3 separate regions of the Homo sapiens genome follow, and all the other regions are linked to region 1. Evidence: promoter capture Hi-C in 16 types of primary human blood cells and fetal thymus (Javierre and others, 2016). All regions are on one chromosome and are shown on one strand. The core of a region is centred on a gene start or on the middle of the fragment in contact, and the rest is flanking DNA. Distances in the headings are between cores, read along the strand shown. Region 1 holds the start of ZBTB14 (zinc finger and BTB domain containing 14). Region 2 overlaps GACAT2 (gastric cancer associated transcript 2). Region 3 overlaps NDUFV2 (NADH:ubiquinone oxidoreductase core subunit V2).

Region 1 (4,228 bases), core at 1,337-3,836:
AAGCCCCTTAGTATCAAATTCAAGGTTGTCACTTACTGTCCGCTGATGTTTATTGAAAGCCTCTTGGGTGCTGGGAAGTGCACTTTTGGGTGGCGACACAGGCGAGAAGCCAGGCTTGGGTCAGGCCTTTCCTTTGTGGTTTCCCATCCCTCCACCTTCCCACAGAGTTGTCCCTTTAATTTAGACTCATCCCCACAACCCCTGTGAACCAGCAAGGGACAGCCAGGCAGAGCCCAGGTGACATGAACATAAAACAAATGAGACAAGAGGATTCATTGATACAAAACCAGGATGTCAGGAACCGTCACTTGAGAAATGCATTCTAGTGCTTTAGAACTCTTGTGAATTATGTTATCGGGTTAGTGGAAACGTGGGAAGTCTTTTCCTAGCCATATGCGAAAAGATTGTCTTTACACAGTAGGCAGACCAAAAATACACGCAGAATGAGTGGGAAACCCCATATGTGGTATGGGAGAAGGGGGAGCGCCAGCAGCAGATGCGCCATGACTTGAGTACTGGCCGTGTCCACACATTGTGCTAACTGCAGTGGCTGCTTTACTGCTTGGTGACGCAACCCTATGACAGAGTACTATTATTATCCCCCTATAAACACACAGCATCCACAGGATTGAAATGCAACTTCAAGAGCTACGCAAACAAGAATAAAGCGAGTACACGGTATCATGTCTGATGAGTGTGAACTTTCGTGGCAGAAGACTTGGTTCTGGTTCTGTCCAGGCCACTGGAACCCACTATCTGTGGGTGCAGGTGATTTTCCATCATGGAGCTAATACCTTAGCTGGGCATTATTTCACTTAATCCTTACAAGTGCCTTATTAGGTGCTTTCCATAGCTCTCCTTCAGCTGAGGTTTAGAGAAGTTAAACAATTTACCCAATATGTGAACTGGATATGTCTGACTCTACAACCGGTCTCTTCCATCCTATTTCCTCCATATAAGCCGTAACTTGGGTGCTTTTGTGAACATCAAAAAAGATGCGTATAAAGTCGCCTTGGGGAACGTTAAACCAAAGTCAATTAACATTACAAAATCAACTGAGGCCATATAGAACTTCCTTTAGAAAATTAACACATCCAATCATCATATTATTTCCCAAATGTTTACTTAGGTGCCTGTTGCAAGCACTATCTTATGTCATCTTCAATAAGCCCAAGAGGAAGCTTCTGCTCTAATCTTTAGATATTAAATTACGCGTTTCGGGGAAACTTCGCGTGTGAGGTAAAGCAACATGAGCGACTCTAAGGCGGCGCGGCATTGCTGTCCGGCCTCCTGCATCTCGGTGAGCAGAAAACGCGGGAGCGGGAGGGACTTCCCAGCTCCCGACGCCAGACACAGGCACAGCCGCCGCGTCAGAGGGAAGGCGACGTGGTTCAACAGCAACGGAGCCATTACTGGCGCTGAGCAGGGATGTTAAGGACAGAGCCAAGTTATCAGAGCTCTCCGAATCGAGTCCAGGGTCTGGACTGCCACAGACGGGTCGCCGCCTCCAGCCCCTGGACTTTTCCTTGGAGTGTCCGGGCGCGGACCTACTAGCTCCGAAGCCCTATGGGTGATCCCTTTCTGCTGGGCAACTGGGGTTGCGCTTTACACTACAAATCGAAGACGTCGCTTTTTCCATTTGTTCTGCAAGTGTTTATTGTGCACCGTCCACTCCCCCACAAACTCAATGTGCCGGCGGCAAGAGGCAAGACCGCAGACCCGTGGGCGCGCCTCCCGGTGTCGGCCGGTGTGCGCGGAGGGCGAAAGTGGCCGGGGCGCCCGCTCCGAGACGCGGCAGAGCCCCGCAGCCTCAGCGCCCGGCCTGCGCGCGCCCGGGGGAGGCTCTGGCCCACGCACATGCACACGCACGGGAGCGCTGGCTCCCGCGTCCCCGGCGCTGCGCCGGCGCCGGGCGCGGGCGGAAGCCCACGAACCAGGGCGGGAGGGAGCTTGAGGCGGGGCGGGTGTCCGCGAGCAGCGCTCGTGCTTAAGTTCCCTGGCTCCCGAAGCCCCGCCCTTGCCCCGCCCACTCCTTCTCCCGCGCGCGGGCTCCGCGCGCCCCAAGCCGCGCGCGTGCGCGCGCGTGCGCAGGCCAGGGCCCTCCGGGGGCGGCCCCGTAGTCTCCAACGAAAGCGTCGGCAAGGGCCCGGATTAACCCTTTCTTTGCTCGCCCACTTAGAGACCCGGTCGGGTTCCGTGCCTGCGCAAGCCGGCGGCGCGCCTTCCCCCCAGCCCGCACCGCGCATGCACGGGAAGGGGGGGGCGGTGGGGGTGTTCACGGCCGGCTAGACATTCTGTGCTCGTGCAGGAGGAGGGCTGCTACCATCAGGGACGTGCACGATTTCCCCCACCCCGCCCCCTCCCCAAACTCCAAAAAAAAATCCAAAACACACTGCCACCCACCGTGCCCCCGCGCCCCGAGCCCCTCCGGTCCCGGCCTGCGTTTGCTAGCGAGCGCGGGGAACCCACGGCAGTGTCTGTGCCTGTGCCAGGCTGCAGGTAAGCGCGGGCCAGGGTGCGGAAGGGGCTGGGGCCGTCCGCAAGGCGGGCGCGGGGGCGGCCGGCGGCTGGCGGGGCGGCCCGGAAGACGCGCGTTCTCGCCGAGCTCTGGGGCACCAGCCAGCTCCAGGATGTGCGGCGGCCGCCAGCGGCGCGGCGCGGTGCGAGCGGGGACGGGCGTGGGCCAGGGTTGGGCGTGGGGCCGGGGCGCCCCGGGGGCCGCGCGGGCCGGCGAGCGGGCTCGGGGAGCGGCCAGGCGGCGGCGGCCCCGCGCGCGCGCTCGCAGAGCCTCGGCGGCCGAGTTCATGGCCGCCCCCGCTCGCACCGCCGCAGTGCACCGCGGTGGGGGTGGGGACGGCCCGAACCCAGCGCGGAGCGCGGCCCGCCGGGCGCCGCCCCTCCGAGCCGCGGGCCCCGCCGCGCCGCCTACAGCCGCCGGCGGAGGAGGGGGCCGGGACCCAGCGCACGCACTCCCGGGTGCGCCCGCGGAGCTTGGGTTAGCCGGCCGCGCGCCGCCCCCGCCCCCGGCCGCGGGAGGGCGGGGGAGGGCCCGGCGCGAGCTGGCCGGGGAGTGCGCGGGGCGCGAGCTCCGGGCTCGCGGGCGGAGCGGGGCGCGGCGCGGCGCGGGGCTGCGGAGCCGGCCGCACGCCCGCTCCCGCTCGTCGCGCCGCCGGGGCCGCCGCGGGCCGCAGTCCCTCCCTGCGCGCTCCGAGCCGCGGTCCCAAGCCTGCGCTCGACGTCTGATTATGAAAGGGAAAGTGGCCCTTTCACCACCTGGCTCCCAGGCTGGGAGCTTTTGTCTGGGAAGGAGTGCAAACGGCCTCCTCCACTCCCCACCTCCCAGGCCCAAAGAAATTGAGAGGGAGGACTCGATACGCCTTGAGGGCTTCTTGGGTCTGCGCTTGGCTCCCTGCTTCCTCCCGACTCCGAAGTTGCAAGCTTGCAACAAGGAAGTCGTGCAGCCGCCATTGTCGGGCTGCCCGGGGCAGGGGAGGCGGCTGCAGCTGCTTATGTAAGTTTTTGGCTTTGCGGGAAGCCCGGCTCCCTGCACTGTAACGCGGCTTAGCGCGCCCGCAGTTTGGAGAGCAATTAGGAAGGGGCAGCCTTATTATGAAGGTGGTGTTGGGGCTACGTCTTTTCCTACACCTGCCTACACAGATGCTGGCAACAGCTGTCTTCCAGTTTTGACTCACCTGAACTGAGCAATTGGACATCTCAATGGCAAGGGGGGCGGGGCGGGGAGGAGGCGGCTTTGGACACACATGGTCTCTCTTCCAGGTCTCATACATCTTGAGAGAGAGAGGGGAGAGGGGCGAGTGGCCAAGTACACACTAGCCAAAACAACAACAACACATTGATATGTTGTCATAGCTAGTCTAAGGCCACTCCTCTCTCTGGTCCCATGCACTTTTATCCCACAAGCCCTAGGACGAGTTAGTGACAACAGTAGTAAGTGTCACAGTGTAAGGTTTTTGCTGGGCTGCCTAGCCTCTGGATGATTACAGGCCTGGGTGCTTCTAGGGAATAGAGAGGCAGAAACACGTAGAATGATCAAGTCAGAATCATCTTTTGGAAATGTTGCCTAACCTCAAACTTCAGATGAGACATCCCGCTTCTACGCTGGGTAGCTCGGTGTGTTCACTTTTCTTTAGAAGGAGCTTATTATGGGTTTCAAGGTGTTGGTCTCCAGGTTGGAGTCTTGTTCCATGGTTTTTGTGTAAGACTGTTA
Region 2 (4,192 bases), core at 704-3,203, 3.4 Mb before region 1:
ACCCAGCCCAGCCAATAATGCCTTCTTTGTTTTCCAGTATTCAGTGAGTTACAGGTATAAAGAGATATCTGATTGCATAATAGATGTTTTTTAAAGTCACTCAAAAAAAAAAAGAAAAGAAAAGAAAAAGAAAAAGTGGTCCAGGCGTGGTGGCTCACGCCTGTAATCCCAGCATTTTGGGAGGCCAAGGTGGGCAGATAGCTTGAGCTCAGGAGTTGGAGATCAGCCTGGGCAACATGGCAAAATCCTGTCTCTACCAAAAAAACACAAAAATACAAAAATAAGCTGGGCATGGTGGCATACACCTGTAGTTCCAGCTACTTGAGAGGCTGAGGCAGGAGGCTCCCTCAAGCCCAGGAGGGGAGGTTGCAGTGAGCCATGATCATGCCACTGCACTCCAGCCTGGGTGATGGGAGTGAAACCCTGTCTCAAAAAAATGGGAAGGAAGGAAGGGAGGGAAGGAGGCAGGGAGGGAGGGAGGGAAAGAAGGGAAGGGAAGGGAGGAAGGGAAGGAGGGAGCAAAGAAAGGAAATACTTGATTTTAAATTCTTTTTCTGTTAAATCAAATTAATCTAAAGGTAATAGAGGATTTACTATTTAAGGGAACCATAGAGTGCTTATTCTGTGAAATAACAAAACCCAGCATGGGCGTGCCTGTTTTCATCTGCGTGCCCTCAGATCCAGTCTTGCCCCTCTGCTACTCTGATGTGAGTGGAAGTGTGGGTTTCCAGGCCGCTGGGTTTGCTGATTGGGTTTGGCCAGTGGAGGTGCCGTCAGGAGATGGGAGTGGACCCAGAAGGAAGAAACCAGGTTATTTCTTACTCTCTCTGCTGCAGGCGGCTTCTCTGGCAGTGGCTGGGTCTCTGTGAGGAGTGGATTTCTGAGGTTCCAGCCATCACTGGATGGACTACTCCTCCTGGTAGCTTTTCGTCCTCCACTGCCTCGTATCAAGGGTGGTGGTGCCTTCCTGTGCTTGCAGATCTCCGGGTTGCTTCACTGTGGCTGATTCCCTGCATTGCAACCCTGGATTGTAAATGCTGGCACAAGGCCCAGGGCCCCATCGTCTCATTCCTCTGCAGAGGCCCAAATACTGTCCTAGGGAGCTGCGTGCAGCAGTGGTGTGATGAGTAATGTTTGTGTGGCTGTGTTCACAACCTCTTTGTCCAAGAACGGTGTGGTATGGTGACAAGACCTGAGGCTTTGACACCAGGTAAATCTGGGTTCAAATCCTGCCCAAGTCATTTGCTGTCTGTGTGGCCTTGGGTAAGGTATTGTTATCAAGTCATCATCATCATTTAACACCAGTGAAATAATCTTCAGAATCATCATCATTATTTAACACCAGTGAAATAATCTTCAAAACTCTTAAAATATGAGCAAACCAGATTTTTCACTCAGATTCCAAACTCTCACTCAGAGAGTTAGAAATCTATTCTGTGTCTATACAGTTATATAAAGAGAAATGAATTCTTTTTTTACTTGGTTTGACTCATAGACAAAAAAAAAAATGTGACTTACTCAGGACTATACTTCACTCTATACTCCCAGGCAGAATTATATGCAGAATTTCTATACCTTTAATACATTGTCCAAACCCAGGCATATGTGTATCTTCCAGTTTTTCCCCTTATTTTAACAGAAAGGCACATTTAAAATATGAAAGCATTCCTGGTTGAAGTCATGAGAAATCATGAAATCATACTCTTTGAAAAGAATGGAAAGAAGAGGGAATTTTTCAGAGTGAGTGGCTTTTTGGGCACTGCAAGAAAGTTAACCTTAAAAAGAGACAACCTAATAATGCCTGATCCCCCCGCCTCCCCACCACCCGCCAAGGTTGAAGCTGGAGTCTGCATCCAACACTGGGGTCTGTGGGGACCTCCCAGCTCTCTTTGCAAGGGTGATTGCCAAAATGCCACATGGGACCTGAAAAAGGCTTCATGTCCAGATTGGCAGCTGTGCATGGCATTGGTGGTGACAATGACAATAACTTAAGAGGCTCTTAAACCTTGAGGTCATTAAAATCTCCTGGTGAGACTGTTAAAAATGCAAATTATCTGGCCACATCCCCAGGGATCTGATTTAAGAGATATGAGCCCAGAAAGCTGTATTATTATTATTATTATTATTATTATTATTATTATTATTATTTTGAGGTGGAATCTTGTTCTGTTGCCCAGGCTAAAGTGCAGTGGAACGATCTTGGCTCACTGCAACCTCCGCCTCCTGGACTCAAGCGACTCTTCTGCCTCAGCCTCCTGAGTAGCTGAGATTACAGGTATCCGCCACCACGCCCAGCTAATTTTTTGTATTTTCAGTAGAGACAGGGTTTCGCCATGTTGGCCAGGCTGGTCTCAAACTCCTGACCTCAAATGATCCGCACGCCTCAGAGTCCCAAAGTGCTGGGATTACAGGTGTGAGCCACTACGCCCGGCCGGAAGGCTGTATTTTTAACAAATACTTTTGATGCAAGTAATTATCTTACTTCCCATTGAAAAACACTGTGTTAGTGTTTCTTTTTTCTCTCTTCCTTCTTTTTTTTTTTTTTTTTTTTTTAAAAAGACAAGGTTTTGCTTGGTCACCCAGGCTGGAGCAGAGTGTGCAATCATAGCTCACTGCAGACTCCAAATCCTGGGCTCCAGTGATCCTCCCACCTCAGCTTGCCAAGTAGCTGAGACCACAGACACATGTGTTAGTGTTTCTACACAGGTCCAAGTGTCACATGGCTTGTCATGTGCGTTCTTCCTATTTCTGTTCAAAACTCCTTCCAATACTGTGCGGGATGACCCACCTCTATGCATGTGAGATGCTGGGTGATGGATATTTGCTCACTTAAATCTGAACTAGAGAGTCCCAACCTAAGGTGTGCTCTAGAGTCTGCTGGGAGAACAGGGGAGTCTCCCTGTGACATGAGAACCAGAGGAAGTAGAGAGGTGAAGGTGTAAGGAGGCCCTTTCCCTCCTGACCAGTGGTTCTTCATGGGGGTGGAAGCACCCACAGGGAGCATTCTAGACGTATATTGGGGTGTTTTCTCTTGTCATAACAACTGGATTGGAGGGCACTACTGGCATTTAAGTGAGGGAAGGGGAATAGTCAGGGGGGCTAGATATCTTGCAGTGTGCCCAGAGAAGGGTCGTCCTAGGCGGGATGAGGTGACTCACACTTGTAATCCTAGCACTTTGCGTGGCTGAGGTGGTGGATCACTTGAGTCCAGGAGTTTGAGACCAGCCTGGCCAACATGATGAAACCCTGTCTCTACTAAAAATACAAAAATTAGCCTGTCATGGTGGCATGTGCCCGTAATTCCAGCTACTCGGGAGGCTGAGGTGGGAGAGTCGCTTGAACCGAGGAGGCAGAGGTTGCAGTGAGCTGAGATCTCGCCACTGTACTCCAGCCTGGGTGATGGAGTGAGACTCCATCTCAGAAAAAGAAAAAAAAAAAGAGTCATCTCTCCTGCTACAGGACTTCCAAGTAAGAGTCCTCTGAAACATTCACGTGGGTAAAAAAATCTGTTTATCATTATCTAAGGCTAGAAGTACATGTTTTACACATAAACACAATACTTTTACATATAAAGCAGTATTTTTTAAGTTTTTAAAATATTTTTTAAAAGTTAATATAACTATTAATTGACAAATCATAATTATCATAATTACATTGACAGAGTACACCGTGTTGTTTTGATATATGTATACTAAAGCAGTATGTTTTTAGGGTTGTTTTACCATCAACTGAATTTTTTTTTAGGAATGAAACCACAGTAGAAATCAAGACTGGGCTGGGCACAGTGGCTCACGCCTATAATCCCAGCACTTTGGGAGGCCGAGGGCAGTGGATCATTTGAGGTCAGGAGTTTGAGACCAGCCTGCCTAACATAGCGAAACCCCATCTCTACTGAAAATACAACAAATTAGCCGGATGTGGTGGCACATGCCTGTAATTCCAGCTACTCGGGAGGGTGAGGCAGGAGAATCACTTGAACCCAGGAGGTGGAGGTTGCAGTGAGCCGAGATCGCACCACTGCACTGGGTGAGAAAGGGAGAGTCTGTTTCAAAACAACACAAAGAAAATAAAAATAAAATAAAGACTGCATTTTATTTGGAGATTTTCAATGCATTTTTTATCTTTGATCATTGCATTGAGGGAGTGCCACTCAAGGGACTGGAGTCATGAATAGAACCCACCTGTATTTGTC
Region 3 (4,382 bases), core at 850-3,349, 3.8 Mb before region 1:
CTCCATTTTAATTCCAACATGATATATACCACCCTATCCTTCCATCAAAAAGAATGTCTAAACACACATTTGATAAGTATGATTACCAAAGTAAAGTTAGCAGAATTTAAAAATTTACAAAGGACCATTTAAAGAATAAGAGAAGTACCTTTAGGACCAAAAAAACCCAAACAACAAAAAGTGTTATCCAGCTTCATTAGAGAGTAAGATCTTCTGATAGAATTACCAAAACATTACCAATTATTGGAAGCCTTTATGAAATTAAAACACAAAATTTTAAATGTGAACATATGTGTATTTTCCCAAAAGCAAGGTTATCAGATTGTCAAAGGGATCTGGGATCCAAAAGGGTTAAGACCCATTACTTTAGGAGGGTACAAAAGGACCATCTTAAAAAAAAAAAAAAAAAAAAAAAAACAGCACCATCTCTTTCCCACGTTTTCCATAATAGCCAACAGCAAGAAGCTTTATCTCTTCTTAAAAGAGCAGAAGCAGGCCCTCTTCAAAAACTGACAAGAAATGGCATGTCAACAGGAAATCAAATGAGTCACACTGAGATTAACACTTACGATCAATTAATGTTATGTATGTGTGGTGAATACAGAAATGAATCTCTTGATATGTTAACTCTCGGAGTTCTGCTTTTTAAAGGACATAAGCCAAAAGAGGAAAGAAAACAGACACTCTGGACAATGATCTCAAATATGTGGCCAATTTGATGCTTGATATATAGCAGGAAGCTACTTCTTACACCACTAACTCTAAATCATCACACAAGTCCACTATATTGCCTTTATACTAGATTAATCCCTGAAAACAGCACCTTGTCAGAAAAGGGAGATATAATATCTTATCCTTTCCAAATTGTGCAACTAATCTGGGGAGTTCACAGACTTCTATTTATAGTTAAAACTCCGGAAACTAAAAATATAAAGACCAGCTGCTAATCTAGTTACTACATTACTAAAATCCATGAGTTTCAAACTAGTGTCATTTTGGGATTCAACAAGTTACAATCTCCAAACTCTCAGTAAGCCAACATGACTGAGAACCCAAAGTGTGATGAGAATCAGGTTAGGGCTCACACAGTAATTTCACTGGAAATAAATTCTTATTCCCAGAGTTTTCCTGATACTAATTTAAACTCATGAGGTTCAACTGGAACCAACATCTTTTGAAATGTAGTAAATTCAATTAGCTGTATGTAAATTCTCACGATGACCATCATATATCAAAGACAATGGTATTTAAGATATTTTGGATTTTTACAATGGATTTACCCCAATTTCCAAGTCTTTTCTTTCCAAAGAAATCTAAGTAATTACTTACCACAAATAAAGCTCCTCCAGCTCCATTTTGCATAACTGTCTTATGCAAATTCCTTACATGTCTTCCCTAAAATTTAAAATTTTAAGAAAGTTTAGTAAATCATAGCCTTAAAAAATTTTTCATAAAGAAATACTTTAGGATTCATAATTTACAACAATGGAATCAACTTATAAAAGATCTTAAGAAATATGGTATTCTACCCTATCCATCTCTATTTCAGGAGAGTTATTTTACAAATGGAGATTCAAAGCCAAGATTCACCCACCTAACATCACACACACGAGTCAATAGGAGAACCAGGACAACCCAGATCTGCTGACTTGTGTACCTTCCTGCCACGCTCTGCTGGCATGCATTTGGAGAATTAATGTACTATTAACTTCTTGACTTTCACTTTTGTCTGAATCAACTTGGATGCCAGCTTTCACTTAGTGTGAACCTTCATAAACATGTTTTCATTCTGTACAAATGAGTCATATACTCTGTACAAATGAGTCAACTGTATCCTCCTTCCTTTTCAATCCTTTACTAAATTAGTTCTGAAACTCCAGCCGTAAAAAGTAGTTTCTGGCCGGGTGTGGTGGTTCATGCCTGTAATCCCAGCACTTTGGGAGGCTAAGGCAAGGAGATCACGAGGTCAAGAGATCGAGACCATCCTGGCCAACATGGTAAAACCCCATCTCTACTAAGAACACAAAAATTAGCTGGGCGTGGTGGCGCACGCTGGTAGTCCCAGCTACTCGGGAGGCTTAGGCAGGAGAATCGCCTGAACCTGGGAGGCAGAGGTTGCAGTGAGCCGAGATCGCGCCACCGCACTCCAGCCTGAGCAGCAGAGCAAGGCTCCGTCTCAAAAAAAAAAAAAAAAGTAGTTTCAGAAAGCTATTTATGATGCTATGCGGACTGACAATGTTCAGTTGCTTTGGAAGGAATCTGATTATTCTCTCAGCTGCATTTCATTTCTCTTTGCCCTCTTGCTCCTACCCTCCACTCCTACCCTGTCCCCCGCCCCCAAGTATTTCAACTACTGTTCTGGATTCCTCCAATTTCTGAGTTCTACTAACCACAGACGGCAGAACACTGGCTGGGTTAAACCAAGCATGGAACTAGCAAAGAGTTGGACAATTCAAAGGCAAACATAGAAGAAAGTAAACGGAGTAATATAACACAATAGTATATTTAACTTTACCCTAGGTCCAAATGATATTTCAGTTGAAGAAATATTAATAAATAAGTTTACATGGAACATCTGCTTTAATTAACAAGAAAAGACTAAGGTACAGGATGTGAGACACACGTACAAAAGATGGGAGTGATAAATATCAATTTCAGGATAATTGGAAGGCAGGGAGGGATACAGTCAGAGGTGCACAAGGGGGCTTTGATTGTGTTGGTTTTGTTTTGAAAAATTAACTGAAACTAAAATTTAGAAGACAGTCACTGTCATCTTAGCTCAGAAAATTTTTTTAATCGAGTAACAATTTTTGAGTAACATCAGTGAGTTACTTAACTAAATTCTGAGAGAAAAGACTGTATACTTATAATAAAAGGATTAATTTTAAGAGTAGGGAAAGTATTCAGTCTTCTCCTAATTTCTGAACACTAACATTTTCTGTTTATTGGCTTTTTATCCACTCCTTGCAGGCTGTCCTCAGGGCTCAGTTCACACTCCTATCTTCTTTTCTCTATAAAGCCTTTGCCTCTGAGAACTCATCCATTAACTTGACAGTGATGAGTCTTAAATCTTACACACATTTGATGACAAGAGGCTAATAGCCTGAAGAGATCATAAATGCACTTAAAAAATGAGTAAAGATCATGAACAAAAGTTTCACAGAATTCAAACTGCTTACTAGTAACTAAAAACATACAACTTAAAATAACATTACTAGTTATCAAACTACCAAGTATCTTTTTTCTTTTAAGATAGCATTCCATTCTGTTGAGCATATAGAGAAACAAGCACACTTAAAAATTCATATAGCCTTTTAGAAAGCAAATTACCATGATATATGGAAAGCCTAAATAAGTGTCTTTTTTTTTTTTTGGAGACGGAGTTTCGCTCTTGTTGCCCAGGCTGGAGTTCAATGGCATGATCTCGGCTCACCACAACCTCTGCCTCCCGGGTTCAAGCGATTCTCCTACCTCAGCCTCCCAAGTAGCTGAGATTACAGGCATGTGCCACTACGTCTGGATAATTTTTTGTATTTTTAGTAGAGACGGGGTTTCTCCATGTTGGTCAGGCTGGTCTTGAACTCTCGATGTCAAGTGATCTGCCCGCCTCAGCTCCCCAAAGTGGTGGAATTACAGGCGTAAGCCACTGCGCCTGGCCCCAAGTGTCCATTTTTTAATTTAGTAATTCTAACCTAGGTATTTTTCCTGCAGTACAAAATGAGGATAAAGCTTTACATGAAAACATGTTGTTCCTATTATGTTTATTGCAGCAAAAACACAACCTAAAAACCCAATCTGAGCAGGTTTTAACTAAATACTAATAATTCTGACACTAGAACGTTATGTAGCTAACAAAAATATGTCGTAAAAATAATCATGTAGAAACTGGAATCAGGGTTAAACAAAACAAAAAAAACAAAAATGCATAAATTATCATCCCAATTACATTAAATACAGACACTGATTAAAAGACTAGAAGGCCATAAATAATTAAAAGTGCTTATCTCTTATTACGATGTTAATGAAATAAGGGACTCTTATTTTACATTTTTTATATTTTTCTCTATTTTCCAAATTTCCTATTAGCATGGATTAACTGGCCAAAAAAATCCTACTTAAAATAAAACACTCAGCAGGTATAAGAAAAACTTATCTCTATTGTAAAACCTATTTCTCCTTCTAACCTCCTTGTATATCAAATTAAATACCACCAAATGTCTAAATTAAAATAGCTTCCATTTTGGATTAATATTTGATCCCTTTCTCATTAATCCAGGATCTGTCATGTACTTTTACTTAAAATAAAAATATAGAGATAATCTTGAAAATTATTCTTTAGGCTTATGTTGCTACATATTGGAAAATCTATTCTGAGGCATTCT

What was found. Contacts are between HindIII fragments. The CHiCAGO score rates a contact against its expected background, and 5 or more counts as called.
Region 2: a contact is called between a fragment that was not itself captured here and the fragment with the promoter of ZBTB14 in region 1, in 1 of 17 cell types (activated CD4 T cells). The highest score is 5.4, in activated CD4 T cells.
Region 3: a fragment that was not itself captured here is called in contact with the fragment with the promoter of ZBTB14 in region 1 in 1 of 17 cell types (total CD4 T cells); the score reaches 5.6 in total CD4 T cells.

Annotation. Positions count from the first base shown.
Region 1 is chr18:5,294,084-5,298,311 of GRCh38, reverse strand. ZBTB14 (zinc finger and BTB domain containing 14) reads left to right here and starts at 2,586. Exons shown (of 4, transcript NM_001243702.2): 1 at 2,586-2,660. RefSeq lists enhancers at 1,378-1,537, 1,255-1,940, 2,629-3,315, 3,316-4,003 and silencers at 1,748-2,167, 2,248-3,187. The HindIII fragment of the contact is 2,257 bases long and covers 1,184-3,440 here.
Region 2 is chr18:8,698,617-8,702,808 of GRCh38, reverse strand. All of the region lies in intron 1 of GACAT2 (gastric cancer associated transcript 2), which reads left to right. Among named protein-coding and RNA genes, the nearest start is that of MTCL1, 4.8 kb to the left of the region's middle. The HindIII fragment of the contact is 4,632 bases long and covers 1-4,192 here.
Region 3 is chr18:9,114,851-9,119,232 of GRCh38, reverse strand. NDUFV2 (NADH:ubiquinone oxidoreductase core subunit V2) reads right to left here. Exons shown (of 8, transcript NM_021074.5): 2 at 1,330-1,395. Among named protein-coding and RNA genes, the nearest start is that of NDUFV2, 14 kb to the right of the region's middle. The HindIII fragment of the contact is 3,264 bases long and covers 468-3,731 here.